2 separate regions of the Homo sapiens genome follow, and region 1 is linked to region 2. The links are contacts of gene promoters, found by promoter capture Hi-C in blood cells and fetal thymus (Javierre and others, 2016). All regions are on one chromosome and are shown on one strand. The core of a region is centred on a gene start or on the middle of the fragment in contact, and the rest is flanking DNA. Distances in the headings are between cores, read along the strand shown. Region 1 has its middle 80 kb from the start of DSC3. Region 2 holds the start of TTR (transthyretin).

Region 1 (2,700 bases), core at 163-2,662, 630 kb after region 2:
ATCTTAGTTTACACTCTGCTCCTAGTTTAAGTCATTAAATACATCCTTAACATCTTCCTGTTACTAATTCTGTCCTTAGTTTTGAGTATAAATTGTTCACAAATGGCCTTTAAATTCTTTCAACATTGACAGTCTACCCTGTTCCCTGGTTCCCAGCTTCCCTGACTATTTTTGTTGCCTCTTCTCATGCAAGTCTACCTCAGAACATCTGTTCTCAGTACTTTCTTTGTCTCTACTGAACCTGAGCTGGTAGTAATTTCCTTACTCAGGGCTGCTCTTTTTACCCAGAGTTCTATAATCTAACACATTACAACAGATTTTTGTCCTTGATTGTATATCAGAATCACTTTAAAAATACAGATGACTGGGCTTCACCCAAAGTCATTTAAATCAGAGCCCCTGAGGTGGGCCTTGGGCCCCAGCATGTATTTCTTGTGTGTGGTTGATGTGGTGCAGAAAGTGCTACCCCAAAATAGGGCTCTTTGGCATTTGAGGAACCAGCAGAAGCAGGAAGGCCACTCTCACTCTTCCTCCTCCATTATCCCCTGAAGCAGGTCATAAGACCTAGGAAACCTCTCCCATCTATTCCGCTGCTTCTCCTCTGAACACCCTCATTTGAAAGGTGTCCTGCCCTAAAACCGGAGGAAAGGCATGTCACTCAGAAACACCAAGAAGGATCTGGACAAACAAACCTTGTCAACTTCCCTTCAATTTCTTACCATTCAAACTTCTGCATGACTGTCCATAACAATACATGGTTTTCCCTGGGTCTTTCTGTCTTCATTTTTGAAGGCTGCCATGACATGAACAACTGCCTTTTGTCATGAGGAGTCAGCAATGCACCTTATGATGGGTGAGAAAAAAATCTGTTCTCCTCTACACAATCAGGTTTGAGAAGCACTGCTTTATAGGCGGTGGAACGTTGTTTCTTCTGCACAATTCAAAGAAAACCAAAATACCTATTTTAACAAGTTAACAGATTTCTTCATCTATATCTAGATGAACATATTGATCTTAGGAATGTTATTTTTATAATATCACAAAAACTTATTGAAGGAAGACAGAATTATTATAAGCAGAAAGTGTATGGCTAGGATAATTCCTGGAAGGAAGTGTGAATTAAGACAGGAAGGGGAAATGAGGGAAACGTCTGGAAACAATGTCTCAAGATTGAAGAGACTAAACAGAAGCTTGGAAAGATACTAGTATCAAACCAGAAGGACCTGGAAGAGTGACAATGAAACTGTAGCTAGGATAGGGGTCCAGGGGAGACAGATGATTTTGTAGAATTCCATATTTATAATAGGGAGAAGCAAGTTAGCTTAGAGTTTCAGGTGGCTGTTAGGAAACAACTCTCTCCTCCAAACATGAAGTTATATCTGAATCACTGACTGATATAATTTTGCTTTCATCAAGAACTCAAGAAATATTCAGGCTGGAGCTAAACCATGTTAGGAAGGAGAAAGCAAGGTTTTTCAAATCCTTATCACCTGGTTCTTTTCTAATAATTTGCCAACATATATCTCATTTGTACCCTGAATGCCTACTTCATTGACAAAGATACATCTTCCACTCCTTATGGTTAGTTGCTCCTAATGAAAGAGTAACGGGAAATGTTGAAATATTAAGCTTAATTCCAGCATGAAACTAAATAGAACTTCCTGTATTTCTTTGGATAACCATGGCATCTATAGACTAGGAAGAATGATTGTTTTGAAGATTTGGAATACCCAATTTTTTTATTTTGTAGACAACCTTTTAGGATACTTGGATATGAATGACAACTTCTCACTTCAAGGTGTAATGATTCATATTCATTTTATGATTGAGATATAGATGGTTTAAGCCAATTATGTTTAAACTTCTATTTCTGGCTGTGCTTGTGACCATTGATTAATTTGAAGAGTTTGTTTCTACTATGGGCATAGATGACCCACCAGTCAGCTGCTAAATGATCACTGCAATTTATACACAGACACTCAGAATTGTATTTAGTAAGTACAAATGACCAATTGAAACCACCAAATTTAAACGGTCTTTCAGGACTGAACAATTGCTTAGTTCTCAGTGATATAAAAGCTGAAAAAGTATAATCAACTGGAAAACAGTTAATTCAGGGCAGAACTAATGGAGTGTAGTTTTGCTCACATTACAATCAATTTTAGTAGTTTTCAGTCTTTATTGAAATTAAAAATTAGAAAGTGTTTAAAATATCTTTTGTTTCCTTAATAGCAATATTACAATGTATCAAGGATAGATGCTAGTAGCTCTTACAATTACACCACATTTATCACAGTAATTATGAACATGCTATTGTGTTTACTGTTGCATTAATTTGATTATAAATGCCAAAAATGGTTTTATGAAATACTTCTTTGTTGGTAAGGAAACATTTCATATAAGTATATTGAAACATCATAATTTGTCACAACATTAATATATAATCATTATAAAAATGAAATGTTAATACTAAGAAAATGAACAACAATTAAATCTAAGGTATTAGAATTTATTAGATGGATAATTATAATTTACATGGACATAAAATAATTTAGCTTAGAAATTACTAGAAAAGATTTTACTTCTCAGGTATTTTTTTTTTTTACTCTAGAAAAAAATGCTTTTTTGTTTGTGAAGGAAATAATATATTATATCAGTGGTCCCCAACATTTTTGGCAACAGGGACCAGATTTGTGGAGG
Region 2 (2,700 bases), core at 1-2,500:
TGTAAATTCTTTAGCAGATGATGTGAGCCTCTCTCTACCAAGTGAGGGGCAAACGGGAAGATAAAACCAAGTCCTGTGGGAGGGTTCTTTGGCAACTTACCCAGAGGCAAATGGCTCCCAGGTGTCATCAGCAGCCTTTCTGAACACATGCACGGCCACATTGATGGCAGGACTGCCTCGGACAGCATCTAGAACTTTGACCATCAGAGGACACTTGGATTCACCGGTGCCCTGGGTGTAGAGAAGACACGTGAGAAGTTAACAAAATTGATCAGAGTGAAAGGATTTATTCTTTGTGGTATTAGAAATCTGGAGCGAAACAAGAATTACACACTGATCCCATTATCAGGAACGTAAGTGTCGACAATTAATGAGCTTCCCTACTCAGTATAACACAGACGTAATTGTTTCCAAAGCAAGAATGGTTTCTGCCTCCAGACACACTGCTATCAACCAGGGATGTGTATAATGAATTTTAAGGGAGAAAATAGGTCCCCTGAGAACAGTTGCTTTGTTAAAAGTCTCCATTTGAGTGGAATTACTGAAAAGATGTAATGTACCATACATAGGGCCAAACAGGTTTTCCTGAGATCATTTTAGTTGTTGCTATAGTCACTCCCTCTTACCAGTTGTTATAAAATAATGTCAGAACTACATCCAGACCCATTTTATAGTATTAGTTAATTCTTCTAGAGGATTTAAGAATTAGATATCTGACTAGAATATTGTTCACTAAGCCTTTTAAAGATTAATCAATAAATACGTTTTGAATAACTATAGGGCCAGAATATAATCTCCTGCAGTTTGTCCCCCAAATACATTTTATGGAGGGATACTTTTCTGAAAATTCAGTATTAACAGCTTCCTTAATATCATATCTTTATTTCTATCATCTATCTGAGGAAACAGAGGTACCAGATATTACAAACCTAATGCACCAAAGCAATGAGGTAGAATGCTCAGAGTTCAAGTCCCAGCTCAGTAAGCTCAGTGGAACTTCATTCTTTTTGAAGTTTGAATTAATTATATTAAAAATAGATGCTGGGTACCCTTGCCCTAGTAATAAAAGCTGGTTGGCAAAGCTGGAAGGAGTCACTTCTACTTCATTTAGCGTGAATCTTAAATGTAGGAATGGGATGTCACAGAAACACTCACCGTAGGGCCAGCCTCAGACACAAATACCAGTCCAGCAAGGCAGAGGAGGAGCAGACGATGAGAAGCCATCCTGCCAAGAATGAGTGGACTTCTGTGATGGCTGCTCCCAGCCTGGGGCTTTTATACTCACTTCTCCTGAGCTAGGCTGCTTATCCCTGCCAATCTGACTGCAAACCTGCTGATTCTGATTATTGACTTAGTCAACAAAGAGAGAATAAGTAACCCATACAAATATGAACCTTGTCTAGAGAGATTAGAGCATCGGAACATTCGTTCTATGAAATATTCTTAATAGGTCATTTGACCAGTTAGGTCACCAAAACAAAACAACCAAAACAAAACAAAACAATCAAAACAAAACAAAAATAGTCTTCTCCCTGTGTGACTGCGTGCACTAACATTCTTGGGGGTAATTTTTTCCTCCCTCACATATTTCTATGCATGTTTTCCATTTTTATAGATTTTTTGTCTCTCATTTTAGATGCAAGATTTTAGACAGATGCAAGTTGTAATAATGTATTTCATGTTGAATGACATCTAGCTGCACAGGCTTAAATATAGTGCATTAGAAAATGTTTGCACTTGATGGATCCATGGGTCAACAAGGAAAAACCCTTGGCAGTGCTCACATTTTTAAAAGCCTACATTTTAGCCAAACTAAGTCATTTGGAAGCTTTGCTTAGTCAGCAATTTCTCCACAATGTGTGTGTGCATGTGTGTATGTGTGTGTGTGTTCTGCCCAGATAAAGTCCACTTCAATCTAAGAATGGCATCTTCCCTCCCTCCCTTCCTTCCTTCCTTTTTTCCTTCCTTTTTTTTTTTTTTTTTGACAGGGTCTCACTCCAACGCCCTGGCTCGAGTGCAGTGGCACGATCACAGCTCGCTGCAGCCTTGACCTCCCGGGCTCAGGTCATCCTCCCACCTCAGCCTCTTGCCCAGGCTGGTCTCGAACTCCTGAGCTCAAGCAATCCACCCGCTTTGGCCTTCCAAAGTGCTGGGATTACACGTGTGAGCCACTGAGCTGGGCCAGAATGGCATATTTCAACCTGGCATTGATGCCCCTGAAATACAGAGAACCAAATCTTCTTTACTGACTCTTCTGCATTGGGCATGCAGGAACAAGGCTGACAGCTGGTTTTTGACAGAACCAAACTTGCTGGAAGAAAGTAGAGATGACTGTGAGAACCAGAAGCCATGATTGACAGCAGATTCTTTTCCTCCTGGCCGACTTATTAATACAAGTCCAGAAATTATGATGATTTGATGATTCATTACTCACATACAAAGTCTCTGTGTGTATGTGTGTGTGTGTGTGTGTGCGCGCGCACGCGCATGTGTGTGTGTGTCCACTAGCATGCGTGGCTTTGTTCATGGATAAACTAAGGCAGGTTTTTGTCCTTATAAGACAAACATGTAGAAAACATAGAGAAGACAAATATTTTGGACAAATACAAGCCAAGAGCAAGTCCGGTTTGGAGCACTAAGAATTGAGGGAACATTCCCATAACTGATAGAGTCAGATTAGAAAAAATTCAACAAGAAATT

What was found. Contacts are between HindIII fragments. The CHiCAGO score rates a contact against its expected background, and 5 or more counts as called.
Region 1: a fragment that was not itself captured here is called in contact with the fragment with the promoter of TTR in region 2 in 1 of 17 cell types (monocytes); the score reaches 5.2 in monocytes.

What each region holds. Positions count from the first base shown.
Region 1 is chr18:30,961,241-30,963,940 of GRCh38, reverse strand. No RefSeq gene overlaps it. Among named protein-coding and RNA genes, the nearest start is that of DSC3, 80 kb to the left of the region's middle. The HindIII fragment of the contact is 439 bases long and covers 1,193-1,631 here.
Region 2 is chr18:31,590,427-31,593,126 of GRCh38, reverse strand. It overlaps TTR (transthyretin), which reads right to left and starts at 1,250. Exons shown (of 4, transcript NM_000371.4): 1 at 1,156-1,250; 2 at 101-231. The coding sequence starts at 1,224. The HindIII fragment of the contact is 4,728 bases long and covers 1-1,830 here.